Regions from separate parts of the Homo sapiens genome. Here regions 1, 2, 3, 5 and 6 are each linked to region 4. Evidence: promoter capture Hi-C in 16 types of primary human blood cells and fetal thymus (Javierre and others, 2016). All regions are on one chromosome and are shown on one strand. The core of a region is centred on a gene start or on the middle of the fragment in contact, and the rest is flanking DNA. Distances in the headings are between cores, read along the strand shown.

Region 1 (2,700 bases), core at 192-2,691, 5.9 Mb before region 4:
ATCAAAATGACTGCATCAGCCAAAAGCTCCACATCTTATTTGTACGTTGTAAATTTAGGGGCCGATTTTCCATTCGGGTATGTGAATTATTTAGACTTCACTCTAACTCTAACACTACAACATTTCAGTAAATCCTCTTCCTCCATCACTCTTTTCGTCTCTTCTTTATTCCTTATCTCTCATCTCTACAGACGATATATAGGTAGCTTTTAAAAAAATCATTTACCCCTTATGCCCGAGGCCCAGAATAAACGTCAAGGATCGCAACCCTGAAGCACTGCAAAACTGAACGTAAGGTAACAGCGGGTCCGTGCAAAGCCCAGGGAAACAGGTTTCGCCCTGGGCCAGGGCTCCCGAAGCTTTATCATCCTCTAATCAGCAGGCATGGGGCATTTCCATGGCTCAGGATAATCCAAAGGGGGTAAGGGGAAGTAGGGAAAGACAGGGAAGGGGTTTGTCTGTGGGGATGCTTACATACTCCCTTTGCTCCTAACCCACACCCCAAGCCCTGGAGACGATAAGCTGCTAGAGAATCCTCCTCACACCAAACCCCTCTTTATTCCCCGCCCCCGCCAGTGGATAAAGGGGGGCAAGAAAACGCCTCCAATCCCAGAAGGTGGAGAAAAAGGGGGGAGGGGGCAGAGTGAATGAGAGGTATCATCAGAAGCATTTGTAGGTAAATCAGACAAGTGGGACGGGCGCTCCCGCTCCCGCACCCCACCCCACCGCACCCCTCGCCTGCCCGGCCAGGCCTTCCCAAGGCCGGTGCCCCATAGGTTCCCCAGGAGGACCGGGAGGAAGAAGGGAAGCGGGCGAGCCGCGGTGCTGGAGGGACTAAGTTACCTTGAAGCTTCTGGGGAAGAATCCAAAGATGATCTGTGGCTTGGAGGGGCGGGAGACGGGCGAGGTGGCCGCAGCGGGGGCGGGCGGCGGGACCGGGACGTGCAGGGGGAGGTCCGGGCAGCTGCGGGGAGCCTGGGGCGACGGCTGTCCGGTACGGGGTCCCTCCGGTTCCGCGGCGGCGGAGCCTCTAGGCCTCACGGCCGGACCCGAACCTCAGCGTTCCGGTGGCGGCGGCGGCCTCACGATCCTCCCCCGCGGGCCCGTCCCATCAAATCGGCACCGACCCCGTTGCGGCTCCGCCGGTGGCTCCTCGCTCACATTCCTGGCGGGCGGCGCCTCAGCTCGTTGCCCCGGACCCGGCGGCGGCGGCGACGACGTGGGGAGGGGGGGAAGGGAGGGAGGAAGACTGGATCTGCAGCGGCAGCAAGAGAAGGGGACAGAATAAGGAGGAGGAGCCGCAGGAGCTGGAGCCGCCGCTGCCAGAGCCACCTTTCGCTACCCGCGGTGGGTCCCAGTCAATGCCCCTTTCTCTCTCCTATTGTCAATATCACCGGGCGGCTGAGTCCATGGCACACGCGCAACCGAACCTTCTGGCCAGCAGCGCCCGCCTCCGGCGCCCGCCCACTGGAGACTTCAAACGGGAAGCGAGGCCTCATTGGCCAGTATCCGCCTTCACTCCCCTGACAGCATGTTCGGCTGAGACCTGATCAGGGATTGGCGGCAGGAGGGCGGAGAAACGGGAGGGTGGGAAGAGAGAAGGTCGAGGATTGGGCCGAAGCTTGAGGAACCCGGATGCAGCCGCGATCTCGGGCGGTGCAGCCGCCGCTTCCGCCCGGCAGTGGGGCAAGCTGAAGTGAGAAGCCGCTGGGCCTGAGAGGAGCTCTTTAATTCCGGGAGGTGTGCGACTAGCGGATCAGCGGGCTGGCTTTCCGTGCTGTGCGGAGCCTTTGGGCGGCGGTCGTCTTGGACCGGAGGATTCCAAGGGCTCGGGTCGTCTAAGGGTCGGGGAGCCCCGGAGACTTGATCCCGCCCTGCAGCTAGTGTGGCCCCTCAGGGTTTGGGGAGTCCCACTCTGGACGGGACCCTGTGATGCGTAGGCAGGAATAAGATCCCCCGCCCGTGCCGGTGTGCCACTGCTTGTGTAAATGGGCCCCTTGAAACCCCCAGCAGTCGCTCTCCGCTGAACCTTCTTCGAATTTTCTCTCACCTCATCTCCTTTTCCTTAAACGTCTGTTTTGAATATCAGACCCCTGTAGCGTTGAAGCCAGCGCTCGTTTAATTAATGCAGGTGGGAACGCTGTCGCCACAGTTTGCAGTCTATTCATTCAGAATAACCCGCCAGTCAGCCGACTGCTCAGAGCTCGGAAAGACCCAGCTCCAAACTAGGAGTTTCGAGATTTTAATTGGCAAGTTGGACCCGAAAGAGTTAATGGAGAAGACTACTTAAATCTATCTAGAACAAGTGATGAGATATTTGGAGATGTGTTTGCATGCTTGGTGAATGCAGACGGCCAAATGGTACATTTCCAGATAATATTCTTGGATTAATGTATTTGAATGCACCCTACGTACATTTTTTGAGAGGAAAAAAGGAAGAAAGAAATTATTAATGCTAACTACAAACGTCAGAGTACCAGTTGTTCAAAACTTAGAAATTGGGGGGGGGGACAAAAAAATTAACATTCTTATTTTCTCAACTCAGAGATAACCACTTACAGTATTTGCATACTTCCTTTTAGTATTTTTTCTCTTTATGTTAATAATGTGTGTCGATCTGTAGCCTAGTTTTTTCCCTCAGCATTATATCATCTTTTCGATACGGTTAGGGAATAGAGCTATATATAAATAAAACTATAT
Region 2 (2,700 bases), core at 122-2,621, 5.1 Mb after region 4:
GCCCAGGTGGACTTCAGCCAAGAACTGATCCGAAGCTCATTTCAAGTGTTGAACAATCCTCAAGCACAGCAAGGCTGCTCCTGTGGGTCATCTTTCTCTATCAAACTTTGATGTGATGACTGGTGACTCTGGGATTGTCACCAGTTGTACCAATTTGAAGAACCTGGAATTAGTAGAATTCTAGAAGTTTACTTCTAATCATGTCCCTCTCAATTTTATTTCCCGCAGTCCAGGAGTGTTATGTTTTGCCACTATTATTTTCAGAATGTGAAGATTTTACTCTTGGCTTAATTTTTCCCTCCACTCAGTGCTAAGGCTGAGCCTCCAGATGCTGTTACCTCAGATTTAATCACTGGTTGAAACTCCGTATAATCTGTAGAGCCTCCATGGCTCTAAAATTTGGAATTAACTTCTCTTGCCTTAAGAGCTGCTTGTACATATGTGGATAGCTATGTATAAAAGCTTCATTTTAAAGAAGGTTCTTATTGTGTTGTGGATCAGGGTCACAGATTGGGTAGCTTGGACACCAGTTATTAGAGGATGAGAAAAGTAAATGAAATGTTCTCTTTTTCACTTCACCCTGCCAGAATGTGCCACTTGACTTATCTTTATTGTCTATGCAACCCATTTGCCACTTCCTGTTTGATAGGACAGATACATTTTACTCTCATGCTCGTGGATCTGCTATGAGTCATAAAACCAAGAGCCCGTTACCCAGAAAACTTGGACCAAACCCTCACTGATAGTGAATTATTTCAAAAATAGCCTCCCTACTCATACAGACATTTTAAGATTCTGTGACAATTTAATGACTGAATCTTTTTAGGATATGTTGCTTTACCTGCCTTCTGTTGTAAAATGGCTCTGGTCTCATGCACAGCAGGAAGTGATCCCTTTATTGTTATAGGTAATAGATTCTTGGGAACCTTTTTTTAGATTGGGTTACCAGATGAAATGTAGGATGCCCAGTTAAATTTGAATTTCAGGTAAATAATTTTTTAGTATGCATATGTCTCAAATATTGCATATACTAAAAATTACTATTTGAAATTCAAATTTAACTCATATTTTTATTTGCTGACCTTGGCAACTCTGCTTTAGGGTCACCAAACAGCTTTTAAAATCACAAATTCTAGTGAATTAAAGTACTTGTGTAGGTGTGGCACTTAAATAGGCTTCGGAGCTTGAAATAATCCTGTTAGAGTACTGTGGAGCTGTGTGGACAGACAGTGAAAGAAATCTACCACCATCACCACACCGAATGATTTATTAATACTGATGTTGGAGAAACTACAACCAAGTTGATTCTGGAAGAGTTACTGGTTAAATCCATCTTTTGCTTGGGAGCCTAGAAGTTTGTTACAGTAAAGACTTGCATTTCTGCACTGGATTGGAATTAAGGTCATTTAGTAAGAATTTACTATTTAAAAAAATGGAAATAGAGTTTAGAAAATATCTGAGACAGAAACTTAGATACATTTCCAACATGGCAAAACCTAGGACTTAGAGAAAACAAACCTATCATGCGGTTAGAGGAGAGAAGGGGACACTCAGAAACCTGAGCACATTTCTTAGAGCTGGTGGAAGGAGGCAGAAAGCAGCATACCATGGGAGCATCTGTGTGCACACATGACCAAGACAGTGCCGCCAGTACCTGCGCCTGATAGGGTTTCAGTTCAGACTACCTGTCCTTTCATCCTCCTTAAAAAGATTTTGCTACATTTTAAACATTAGAATATATTCTTTAAGAATATTTTTGTGGGTTATTTATTGATTTTGTGGTTTTAAAACTCTTGAGCACGAGCAGAACAGCTTTTGTTGCTAAATCAATCAAATTACAGTGGTGCACTAGACAGAAACAGTCCCTTAGAATGCAGCTTATATGTGAGTATCTACTGTTAATGGGAGAATTGGAATTTTATGTTTAGAAAAAGGCAGATTTGGGGCTGGGCACGGTGGCTCACGCCTGTGATCCCAGCACTTTGGGAGGCCAAAGCAGGCAGATCACCTGAGGTCAGGAGTTTGAGACCAGCCTGGGCAACATGGTGAAACCCCATCTCTACTAAAAATACAAAAATTAACTGCGTGGTGGACACCTGTAATCCCAGCTACTCGGGAGACTGAGGCAAGAGAATCACTTGAACCCAGGAGGTGGAGATTGCAGTGAGCCAAGATTGCACCACTGGACTCCAGCCTGGGTGGCAGAGTGAGACTCTGTCTCAAAAAAAAAAAAAAAAAAAAAAAAGGCGGATTTGGGAAAATCATGTTACTTCACACTGAGAAAGCTTCATTGGGAAACCAGAAGTGGCAGCAGGAAGTCTCCATTGGTGGAGACTTTATGTTGTTTTTCAAAGAGAAGGTCTCTTGGTCAATGCCCAGATCTTATTGTGGTACCATACTTGAGTTATGTGATGAGAGTGACCAAGGGTATGTAAATTATGTGTCCCATCCACTCTTAGTTTCTTTCTTTTTATTTGAGGCAGGGTCTCAATCTGTCTCCTAGGCTGGAGTGCAGAGGTGCAGCCTCTACCTCCCAGGCTCAAACAATCTTCCCACCTCAGCCCCTGCAAGTAGCTAGGACTACAGGTGCACACCACCAAGCCCAGCTACTTTTTGTATTTTTTGTAGAGATGGGGTTTCACCATGTTGCACAGGAGTCTCGAACTCCTGGGCTCAAGCAATCCTCCTGCCTCAGCCTCC
Region 3 (2,700 bases), core at 158-2,657, 8.1 Mb after region 4:
ACCTTAGAAATGGTTCTGAGGAGTAAACCAGTTAATACATGTAAAGTGCTTAGTGCCTGACCCAAAATTAACACTCAATAGTAACTTTTATTATTAATACATCATCCTGGTACCTTGGGAAAAGCTAAAAAAGAAAATATTTTTTAGCAATCCTAAAGATTAAAAAAAATACAAAAATTCTGAGTAGCCACAAATGCTGAAGATGTGTATAGAACATATAAATGTCTCTGGCACACATGTCAGTTCATAAATCACTCTGTCATTCGTTTGATCCTCAGAACAATCTTGTAAGGTAGGCCTGGGAGATTCCATTTCCATGTTACTCATGGGGAAAGTGAGGCACAAAAGAGTTCAGTATCAAAGCCACTTTGTTAAATGCTCCTATTTCAAATTACAATCCAGGCTTTCTGGCTCCTAGACCATTTCTAGTGTCTTGCATGGTCCTTCTACCTATTTTTCACTTTCCAGAAAACTAGAGATCATTCCTTCACTATAGTAATTATCTACAGATAGACATAGAATGTGTCTAACAAACACAATAATCTACCAGAGGATTTCTGGAATCTTTTTAACCATGCAATGGCAGTAGACAACTGCCATCAATTTGTATTTATAACGCCAAATGAGAAGCTAGGTTTACTTGGCAAGTATAGATAATGATCTAGTGGCTCTAGAGTTATAAAGTAATCAGGTACGATTGTCACTCTTAAGAGTGACAGGTGCTTCAACATGATTTAAAATACTTCAGAGGTTTGTCTTTATCGTCTCTTGTTTACTGACAGCCCACAAGGCAGGGTGAGAGACCTCAGGGGAGAACAGGAACTTTACAAAGGAAAACAGAAGAATCAGCAAGAAAACCACAACATGCTCCCTGCCTCAGAAAACTCCAAAAACCACCTACTGAGAAGTCAGACTTGGTTTCAATTATCTTCCGAGCCAGGAAGATACAGGTGAGGCTTGTGAACTGAGACCAGGGAACAAGAGTTAAGCTAGGATGACTCTACGGGTGAACGTCCAGGAAGCCATGGATCTACCGCAGTCGTCAGAGCCCAGCGGATCCCTGGCAGAGTTAAATGCTCGTTCTGAACCAAATGTCCGCTTCCGAACCAATCGCTGGTGCTCACTCGCAGCCCCAGTCCCAAGCGTACTCCAGCGCCCAAGGGTCGCCCTGACTGAAAGAAGAGAATCAGGCCTGTAGTCATAGGGTGTAGGGATGCCTCCTAGAAGAGGGGAAAAGATCAAGATGCGGAGAGGCTGGATCCAGCCAGATACGCGACCCAAGGGGCTTGGGACACCCTCACCTCTTCCGCACAGAGCCCTCCCTCTCAGGACAGCGCCAGCCTCCGCCGCCGCTGGACCAGCCCTTCTATTCAGGCTGTGCAGCTTAGAGAAGGGGGCGGAAGGGAATAATCGTAGGGCGGAGAGAAAACACGAATAACGAGACCGCAGGGCATGCTGGAAGTCGTAGTTTCTTCTGCCTCTGCTGTCAGGCGCTGTCCCGACGAACCACAAGGCTTCTTGACTACAGCCCCCAGAAACCCCAAGCACCGTGCTAGGTCATTTCCTCTCCTTTCCGCGAGACCTTCCGCGGTTATCCAGCGAGTCACGTAGCAAGACTACAATTCCCATGAGGCTCAGCAAGGGCGATTTAGGGTCCAGGGAAGCAATGAGACGTGTTCTTTGTTTTCCTATGGGTGAGGAATGGTTGTATGAGCAGTTGGGTTTCGGGACGCTTTTTGGGGAGAACCCGATGGAGTCTGAAGGATCTCTAAATCAGGCGGAACCCACGGTGCGGCGAGTTGGGACGGAAGTAACCGGTGGGAGTGGGGAGGAGCCGGAAGTTAAGGAGGGGAGGGGGTGGAGGGAAAAGCAAGCCAGGAGGTGCTTGCGGCCGCTTCTAGTAGTTTCCAGGCGCTGCCGGGCGGCTGGCACTAAGCGGTCCTGAGGCTGTGGCTACGGCTGCTCCGGAGCTGGTGGCGCCGCGATAGGAGAGCCGATGGCCAAGTGGGGTGAGGGAGACCCACGCTGGATCGTGGAGGAGCGGGCGGACGCCACCAACGTCAACAACTGGCACTGGTGAGGGCCAGAAAAGCAGGCCGGCCTTGGGAGACCTGCGGCCGGGCCAGGGTTTCAGGGTTCCTAGAACCTCGGCCCGGACAGAGCTGGGGCTGAGGTAGCCCTGTCCGGAGATGGGGGTGGGTCCTTCCTGTGGCAGGGGTCCGTAGCCCCAGGCCTCTCCACTCCGCGGTCACCTTCTCAGTGTTTGAGGGGAGGGAGATGGACGTGGAGGGCTGCGCCCCAGAGGAGGGTTGTCAGAGAGACTAGGAGATAACGCCCTGGCTGCTGCATCCAGCCCGAGCAGGGAGGTGCTTATTACACGTGGCCAGAGGAGTCACTGAGACTGGAACCTCCTTTGATTGTGTTGGGAGATAGCTGTGAAAGGCCTAAGGCCAGGGGTCTGTAATTCCTATTTTGCGGCCTGCGGTAAAATTAAAAGTCATTCATAGGGGACCGCTGCAGCGGTCCCGCGGGAGATTGAGAACGTGTTGTGCAGGTGCTCAGAGCTCAGATAGCTGCGGCCTCTCACCCGGAACTATCAGGTCGGGTGTGTTGGAACTCCAGGTTGCCGAGCAGCCGTGGTTTTATAACCTGACCGTTCTTAAAATAACTGCCCTCCTTCATGAAATCTTCCCAAAGTAA
Region 4 (2,700 bases), core at 122-2,621:
TCTAATAGAGCTGGTCTCTGAGCTGAGCCTACTTTTCAGCCTCCAGCCCCAAGAGGATATAAATACAGATAAGTACAGGATCGAGGGCTGAGGGACGCGCCACACGCAATACCTAGAGGTCTCAAAAACAGGAAAAAAAAAAAAAAGGCAGAGCACAGGAAAACGAAAGCTGAAAAAACACTGCAAAGCAAATACGTCCTCTCCTGGCCCACATGCTGGGTATAGCTGGATCTGTCAGCTTCGAGAATAGTTAGACAACCCTGGCCCATTGTTCCTACAGCAGGCTAGAGCATTTGGAGGGAAAAATACCATATCCGGCAGGGCCCGGTGGCTCACGCCTGTAATCCCAGCACTTTGGGATGCCGAGGCGGGTGGATTGCTTGAGGTCAGGAGTTCGAGACCAGCCTGGCCAACATGGTGAAACGCCGTCTCTGCTAAAATAAAAAAATTAGCCGAGCGAGGTGGCGGGCGCCTGTAATCCCAGCTACTAGGGAGGCTGAGACAGGAGAATTGCTTCAACCCAGGAGGCAGAGGTTGCAGGGGTCTGAGATCCCGCCACTGCACTCCAGCCTGGGCGATAGAGTGAGACTCTCTATCTCAAAAAACAAAACACCTCCCCCACGTCTCCCTCTACCGAGTAACAATCGGGAGAGAGTTCATCCTCAGGCCCAAGGCACGCCGGACCCGAGCGAGCAGGCGGGCGCGCAACCGCAGGGCGGACCGGGGCTCCGAGGCCTAGAGTCAGGCCTGGCGTCCCTGCGGCGGGAAGAAGGGTCAATCCACCGACTAGAGTGGCGGGGAGCATCACGCGGCGCTGCATGGGGCTCGTGGGGAGGGGAAAACGTATGGGGCTGGGGTCGCTCTGGAGGCCGGGGACTCGGACTCGGGTAGCCGCGGAGGCCTTTCTCACCATCGCGCCAAACTCTCTTCGCTACAGCAGCTGCCGACACCGCCGCCGTTACACGAGCTTAACTACAACGCCGCTAACAGCCAATCCTCGCGAGAGGAGCCGCCGGAAGTCGTCGAAAGTGCAACGCAAAAGAGCCTTTTGGATCATAGAGGCACAGTCACTTCCGGCAGCTAGAGCAGCTACTGACTCTGTTTCAGCCATCTTCGATAAAGGCAAAAAGGTAAGGGAAAGTTTCCAAGCTTTAGGAAGAATTATTTTTTTTCAAGACGCTGTCTTCCGTACTTTCGTTATTAAACATACGGCTCAAGTGATCACCGGTATAGACAGTGACATCAGACATCTTTCATTAGCCCTACTCAAAAATGGCGGCAACGTAAGTATCCTGGGCCGGAGGTCGGTTGTAACCCGGAAGTGCCTTTGTAAAGGAGGGGGTGGTTAGACAATCCGGAAGTGGATGGAATGAAGAGATGCCACTTGGCGGCCATGGCAGCTGTAGTATCGGCGACTCCGGGTCAAGGCCCGGTCGAGTGCAGTACCATGGGCAGCACCGGGTATAGGGCAGAGACAGCTTTGTGTCAACTTTGCTGCTGAACCCCTAGGACCCATCGTTAGAGACCTGCAGGACTCCTTTCCTCATCCCAGGCTCGGAGGAGAGTTTGCTGGGACTGGTGGGCTGGTTTCCTGCTCTGGGGGGCGGATCACCTTCGGGGCCGCCTCTTGGAGACAGGGGCGCCTAGGGAACGAACAGGTTCGCTTGAGTCACTTACCCGCCGCCGCCTAAGACATTGTGCCACCCTCAATCCGACAATCGAAGAAATCGATCATTCGCACATTTTCCCCATTGACTTTTCCCATCTCTGTTAACCCACGAGAATCTAATGACTGGCATCTGAGAACCCAGAGCCTGGGACCTTAGATTGCTGTAAGCTTTCTCTGGTGCTAATATCAGCAAAAAGGGTCTGTTGCCGGGTACGTTCAAGAGGAAGGTGCCTCGTGAACACATCTGCTGGTGGGAAGGCCTAAAGAACTGGAAAGCCCACTCTCTTGGAACCACCACACCTGTTTAAAGAACCTAAGCACCATTTAAAGCCACTGGAAATTTGTTGTCTAGTGGTTGTGGGTGAATAAAGGAGGGCAGAATGGATGATTTCATCTCCATTAGCCTGCTGTCTCTGGCTATGTTGGTGGGATGTTACGTGGCCGGAATCATTCCCTTGGCTGTTAATTTCTCAGAGGTAAGAAATTCTCAATTTTCTGTCAGCTGTCAGGATGGCTGTGAGATAGTAGTTTTAGTTGCAAAGGGAAGCTGCTTCCCTAGTTAAATCTCAAAGCTGAAGGTCTCATTAAGAAAGACTATCTTTTTTAAAAGATACATGACACTTAATAATAGAAAGAAACCTCATATTCATTAGTGGAATTCTTAACCTGGGGTGGATAGATATTCCACGGAAGATCCTGGAGTATTCTGAATCCCCTAGAATTGCTTACAAAAATTTGAGGTTCTGTGCATTTACCTGGAGAGAGGCACCATAACATTTCTTTTGATTCTCAGAGGTTTCATGGAATCAAGATTCCAGATTGTTATCAAGAAAATAAATGGAGGGCTGGGCGCGGTGGCTCACGCCTGTAATCTCAGCACTTTGGGAGGCTGAGGTGGAAGGATCGCTTGGGCCCAGGAGTTCTAGACCAGCCTGGGCAACGTGGCGGGACTTTGTCCCTACAAATGAGGCTGAGGCAGGAGGATCGCTTGACCCCAAGTGGTTGAGGCTGCAGTGAGCCGTGTTTGGGCC
Region 5 (2,700 bases), core at 187-2,686, 6.3 Mb after region 4:
ACCCAGTGGGACAGATATTAAAGTCAGCAATGGCCCAAGACAGTGTGAAACACCGCCGCCCCCCCCCGCCAACTCCCCGCCCCAAACAAGCAATAAAGAGATCTAGAGAAGGAAGGGTGAATTGATGAGCCCTTCAGGGAGAGCTGGATCACAAAGGTGGTCTCTGTCGAAGATCAGAGAGACTGAGGGTCTACTGGACATCACAGGCCATTATCATTTGGGCCAAGATCCACCCATCCTCTTTATTTTCTCACTCTCTCTCAAGAGGAGACTCCTCCGGGGTTTAGAAAAGCTGCATGGATGCACCTCTCCACTTTTCTGCACAAGTATGCCTTCCATTTCACAGAAGTGTTATCTGTTAGAAATCCCAACAGATAGCTGATGAGGACAGAGCCTGAGCACTTCTGAATTGCTCTGCCAATTTCTCAACCTAATTTCCCTAAAGCTTAAGGGCCTCTTAGAGTGTATACAACATCTATTTCCAAATTTTGTCCTGGCCCTGGCCCAGCCCAGCCAAGCCCAGCCCAGCATAGGTGTGCTGTTAAAACTTAATCAGGAGAAAGGGATTCTTATCCTGGCCCTACCACTTAGTAGCTGTGTGACCCTGGGTAAGTCATTTACACTTTTCAGTCTCGGTTTCCTCATCTGCAAAATGGAGATAGAAATATCAACCCGAAGGGCTATTGTAAGAATTATATGACAAAAAGTGAAGGCTCTTTGTACAGTGCTAGGCTCATAGTGGCTGCTCATTCGCTCATCCATTCCTTCGTTCCTTGAATTCACCAAGCCTTCTCCATCTTCCTAGCTCCCCCTTGTCATCGCCTCTCGAAACCTTTTCCCCCCAAAAGGTTGCCTTCCAGTTATCTTCCTTCCATCCCACCTCCATTTTTCCAGACTCTCCGGATCCTCTCAATCAGAAGCAACACAGACACCTACATCCCTCTTCTCCCCCATATTCTCCTTACCTGGCGACCGGGCCCCCAGCACAGCAGTGGCAGCAGCAGCCGCTGCCGCAAACAAGCTCCCCCAGGACAGCTCCAGCCCGGAGTCCACCTGAGCCATTTGTCCCCGCCCCCTCCCTCAGCCCTGCTCCAGGATTGGGCCGTTTCCGTCAGTACTCTCTCTGATTGGCTGTCCCGGTTTCGCCCGAGCAGGAGATGGGGAGTGAACCCCTTTACTGCCAATCAGCGGTTGCCGCTGCCTAAGCCTCTCCCCAGGTACGCCGCTCACGCCGTAAGCCCTCCTGTTGGACCTAGCGGAACTCCGGGTTTGGAGTCAACCTCTTAGGGGCGGAGAAAAAAACAGCGGAAAAAAAAAAAAAAAAGAAGACTCCCTTCAGCTGAGGGCAGGGCTCTGCGCCCGCGCTGCGCGGCGGTGACGACATTCGCCCGCGTCCGCAGCTGAGCGTTATGAGCGCCTGCGCAGTGGCTCCGAGCGGGCGGTTGCTTGTTGGTTGTTGTAGTAACCGGGGAAGCAGCCGTCGGCGGCTGCCCTGAGCCTTCCTGGGGAAGGAGGAGGGAGGTAGGCGCAGAGCGCGGTCCACGCCTGCTCGCCCCGAACCATGGGAAGATGAGACAGGTAAACGCCTGCGCCCGCGCGCTTCCCTACCCTAGGGAGGAGCATTCCCGGGTCCGGGCTGGCGCCTGCAGCAGGACTTCCCGCTCAGAGCCCGGGAGTAGCTGTTGGCTTCCGGGCGCGCCGCGTTGAATCGCGGCTGCGGGGTCGTCCCGTCCTTCCCGGGGGGAGCATCTGCGGACCTACGTGGGATTGGGGTGAGCTGGGGGTGGGGCTGAGAAGCAGATTCCTTTCGGGAGAGGAGTCTCCTTAGGTGAGTATCTCTACTCTTCTTCCGATAGACCTGTTTCTCCCCGCTCTGCAGGCAGCCTAGGAGAGGTTGGCATCCCTTCCCGTTTGGAGGTTTTGTTTGTTTAAACTTAAAGGGCTTCCCAGCATTTTGGGAAAGATCAAGAAATCCCGTTGAGAATCCCCTGAAGAAAGCCATTGAAGTTGTTAGACATTGCCTATTGCGCCGAAGATCTTTGATCATTATCGGGGTCTGTTTTTTTTTTGTCTTATTTACAGTCTCATCGTATTTATGAATGCATGGAAAAGTTAAGAAGGATTGACAGCAAGTAATTATCGCTGAGTAATTTGGGATTATGGTCATTTAAACATGTTTCTTTTATTTGTAGTTCCTATTTCTTCTTCTGACACACACAACGAACATGTACTTTTTTACTTTAGAAAAAATATTTTAAGTTAGAAATGCAGTGTTGGAAATTTCCTAATTTCATCGTCTATTTGAGAGTCGTACCAAACTTTGTGATTTTTAGGAAGAATAATTTTTAAGAGTGGAAGGGCATTCCTCCCCTCCCCCACCTATTTATATGGACCTTTGATTCAAGAGAATATATTCATCTTTCGGTTCATTGTTGAATTTATTTTACTGGAAACATGATGGCATCTTGTCAGCGTGCTTGTCATAGAGTCTAAATAAATGTTGGCAGGGGTTTTTTGTTGTTTTTTTTTTTTTGAGACGGAGTTCACTCTTGTTGCCCAGGCTGGAGTGCAATGGCGCGATCTTGGCTCACCGCAACCTCCGCCTCCCGGGTTCAAGCGATTCTCCTCCCTCAGCCTCCCGAGTAGCTGGGATTACAGGCATGAGCCAGCACACCCGGCTAATTTTTTGTATTTTTTTTT
Region 6 (2,700 bases), core at 31-2,530, 7.7 Mb after region 4:
AGACAGTGGGAGGATTAAATGAATAAATGTAGGCAAATCACTTAGGACAGCATCTGGCAAATAATAAGCACTACGTGTTGTTATGGAAGAATTTGTCTTGGGTTCTAGAGTATCTTGGTGTCAAGCAATTCCTTAAAGGAATTTCAAGTATCAGCAAGAAGACAGAGGGCTATGTGGGAAGGGTTTACACTGTCTCTAAAATCAAAACCTTCACCTGTATATGAACAGCCTGACCATAACCTGAATATTACCCTTTTAGTGTACCTGCTCTGCCAAATACTTCCCTAAAATATGAGCCAAGAACCAGTCTGGCTGGTGAGGGCCTTGTTACCTGACTGCTAAGGGAAAAAAGGTCATACATCCCACTATCACTGGCCTCTGCCTCTGCCATCTGGCACCTGTAGATCCCCCTGCCCACACAGGCTGGAGCCCCTCTCTTCTCTCACTGACCCATGAGACACACTTACCACTCCATCAAATCCTATTTAAAGACTTATGAAGTGATCAGCACCAATAATGCTAGATGCTAGATTCAAACTACAGGATAACTATTTTACAGACGGCCAAACTGAGGTTCAGGAAAATGAAATCAATGGTTCCCAAACACCAGTCCAAGAACTGTTGCCAGTCCTTGTGGTGATGTTTTCACCAGTCTTCAGCCAAACTGGAAAAATAAGACTAAAAGCTTTAAGTTTTTCATACACCCGAAATTATTCTATTTTTAAATTGTGAGGTTATGTCCTATCTTCCCTTCTGTGTATACGGAAAAGATATCAAAATGACCCTTCTTTTGTAAAATGATATTGATAGGAGCTGGAATTTGAAACTAGATCACTGACTTTCACCGTCTCCTATTACACTATTTTAATTACTTCTAAATTTTTTTTTTTTTTTTTTTTGAGACGGAGTCTCGCTCTGTCACCCAGGCTGGAGTGCAGTGGCACAATTTCAGCTCACTGCAGCCTCCGCCTCCTGGATTCAAGCAATTCTCCTGCCTCAGCCCCCTGAGTGGCTGGGATTAAAGGCGCATGCCACCATGCCCAGCTAATTTTTGTATTTTCAGTAGAGACGGGGTTTCACCACGTTGGCCAGGCTGGTCTTGAACTCCTGACCTAGTGATCTGCCCGCCTTGGCCTCCCAAAGTGCTGGGATTACAGGTGTGAGCCACTGCGCCTGGCCCACTTTTAAATATTTTTAAATGACTTTAATTTTAAATTCAACAATTATTAAACAATCGTTTATAAATATTTTAAATTGTATAACATAATACACTTAAAATATCTTCAAATAAAACTCGGCCCATGGCTGACTCTTCATGGTATCCTAGGCAGGGTTAAAAACTCAAATCCTCACACGGATAGGCAGGTTACAATTTCAAGAAGTAGATGGGAAAAAAAAAGAAACATTCGCAAGTCCCTAAATGTAGGATTTAAGGGCGCATGTCTCCCCCTGCTGGTTGTGGTGGTAGGAAACCGAACCTAGACCACAATGGTACTGGGGAGAACTTGAATTGGAAAGGACCCTACAGCAAGAAGAATAGGTGCTTCAGAACCCACTATCCATCACAGGGTCCTTACCCCATCCATCATAGGGTCCTTACTCCAACCAAGAGTAAAGAGAGTAAAGTGAGTGAAGGTTAAAGAATTCGTGGCACCAGTAAACTATCAATAGATGCTGATTTACAAATCTTGGTAAATTAATAGGAAAGGAAGAAAAACGTTTACGGTGGTTTAGCTACATAAAAATATTCACTATCAATCTTCATGAATTGCTTATTCTGTATATCTAATTATATAGAATCATAGCATAAAATAATCATAAAAATTATGCCTATCATTAGTCTTGATTCATTTGGTTCCATTACAATACTTGTCTGAAGCTTAAGTTATTGGTACAGCATGGCTGTCTGCTCAAGATGTAGGTAAAGTCAAGGAAGTTTGGTTTATTTGCCCCTTCGGAGGACTAAGAGGGCCTCATGCTTTCGCATATTTCACTGATTCTTTTTTGCTTGGTATGCATTATCCCCTCACCTGCTTCCATTATTGCAAACCCAACTTTCAAGCTGTCTTTAAAGCTTTACCTGCTGGTCTCTTTCTACTCCAACAACCGAAAAAGAAAGTTTTTTTTTTCTCCCTTAATGTTATTGTTTTGTTCAGAATCTTTTGGTAGTTATCCCATTCTCTTTCATATTGCTTATTACATCATGTCTTATTTCCCATATCAGATTGTAAGTTATTTGAAGGCAGACTTTTATTCTTTTTTTTTTTGAATTTTATTTTTGTTTTGTTTTTTATTTAAGTTCAGGGATACGTGTGCAGATTCGTTACATAGGTAAACTTGTGTCATGGCGGTTTGTTGTACAGATGATTTCGTTACCCAGGTATTAAGCCTAGTATCCATGCTGCTGTTTTTTAAATTTTTTATTTCCATAGGTTTTTGGGGAACAGGTGGCATTTTGGTTATATGAGTAAGTTCTTAAGCGGTGATTTGTGAGATTTTGGTGAACCCATCACCTGAGCAGTATACACTGCACCCAATTTGTAGTCTTTTATCCCTCACCCCCTTCCCACCCTTTCCCCTTGAGTCCCCAAAGTCCACTGTATCATCCTTATGCCTTTACATCCTCATAGCTTAACTCCCACTTATGAGTGAGAACATACGATGTTTGGGTTTCTATTCCTTAGTTACTTCACTTAGAAT

The links. The method cuts DNA at HindIII sites, captures the fragments that hold promoters and counts their contacts. A CHiCAGO score of 5 or more calls a contact.
Region 1: a contact is called between the fragment with the promoter of PPP2R5E here and the fragment with the promoter of SLC39A9 in region 4, in 1 of 17 cell types (non-activated CD4 T cells). The highest score is 9.9, in non-activated CD4 T cells.
Region 2: a fragment that was not itself captured here is called in contact with the fragment with the promoter of SLC39A9 in region 4 in 1 of 17 cell types (non-activated CD4 T cells); the score reaches 5.7 in non-activated CD4 T cells.
Region 3: the fragment with the promoter of VIPAS39 here is called in contact with the fragment with the promoter of SLC39A9 in region 4 in 1 of 17 cell types (non-activated CD4 T cells); the score reaches 8.2 in non-activated CD4 T cells.
Region 5: a contact is called between the fragment with the promoter of TTLL5 here and the fragment with the promoter of SLC39A9 in region 4, in 1 of 17 cell types (non-activated CD4 T cells). The highest score is 5.9, in non-activated CD4 T cells.
Region 6: a fragment that was not itself captured here is called in contact with the fragment with the promoter of SLC39A9 in region 4 in 3 of 17 cell types (total CD8 T cells, non-activated CD4 T cells and naive B cells); the score reaches 11.9 in total CD8 T cells.

What each region holds. Positions count from the first base shown.
Region 1 is chr14:63,541,936-63,544,635 of GRCh38, forward strand. PPP2R5E (protein phosphatase 2 regulatory subunit B'epsilon) reads right to left here and starts at 1,442. Exons shown (of 14, transcript NM_006246.5): 1 at 844-1,442. LOC112268140 (loricrin-like) reads left to right here and starts at 849. Exons shown (of 1, transcript NR_158218.1): 1 at 849-2,700. RefSeq lists silencers at 938-1,077, 1,118-1,257 and enhancers at 1,494-2,485, 1,548-1,757. The HindIII fragment of the contact is 771 bases long and covers 849-1,619 here.
Region 2 is chr14:74,494,890-74,497,589 of GRCh38, forward strand. It overlaps ISCA2 (iron-sulfur cluster assembly 2), which reads left to right. Exons shown (of 4, transcript NM_194279.4): 4 at 1-2,217. The coding sequence ends at 111. Among named protein-coding and RNA genes, the nearest start is that of ISCA2, 2.5 kb to the left of the region's middle. The HindIII fragment of the contact is 1,823 bases long and covers 461-2,283 here.
Region 3 is chr14:77,456,194-77,458,893 of GRCh38, forward strand. VIPAS39 (VPS33B interacting protein, apical-basolateral polarity regulator, spe-39 homolog) reads right to left here and starts at 1,408. Exons shown (of 20, transcript NM_001193315.2): 1 at 1,302-1,408. It overlaps AHSA1 (activator of HSP90 ATPase activity 1), which reads left to right and starts at 1,900. Exons shown (of 9, transcript NM_012111.3): 1 at 1,900-2,076. The coding sequence starts at 1,997. RefSeq lists enhancers at 1,206-1,728, 1,347-1,806, 1,729-2,251, 1,977-2,156. The HindIII fragment of the contact is 4,049 bases long and covers 1-2,700 here.
Region 4 is chr14:69,397,321-69,400,020 of GRCh38, forward strand. It overlaps SLC39A9 (solute carrier family 39 member 9), which reads left to right and starts at 1,372. Exons shown (of 7, transcript NM_018375.5): 1 at 1,372-2,145. The coding sequence starts at 2,050. It overlaps ERH (ERH mRNA splicing and mitosis factor), which reads right to left and starts at 979. Exons shown (of 4, transcript NM_004450.3): 1 at 911-979. The coding sequence starts at 913. RefSeq lists enhancers at 1-487, 488-995, 1,197-2,396, 1,325-1,664 and a silencer at 988-1,228. The HindIII fragment of the contact is 688 bases long and covers 1,148-1,835 here.
Region 5 is chr14:75,659,810-75,662,509 of GRCh38, forward strand. It overlaps TTLL5 (tubulin tyrosine ligase like 5), which reads left to right and starts at 1,437. Exons shown (of 32, transcript NM_015072.5): 1 at 1,437-1,578. ERG28 (ergosterol biosynthesis 28 homolog) reads right to left here and starts at 1,067. Exons shown (of 5, transcript NM_007176.4): 1 at 966-1,067. RefSeq lists a silencer at 1,129-1,178 and an enhancer at 1,289-1,508. The HindIII fragment of the contact is 4,369 bases long and covers 444-2,700 here.
Region 6 is chr14:77,093,418-77,096,117 of GRCh38, forward strand. No RefSeq gene overlaps it. Among named protein-coding and RNA genes, the nearest start is that of CIPC, 3.5 kb to the right of the region's middle. The HindIII fragment of the contact is 1,194 bases long and covers 684-1,877 here.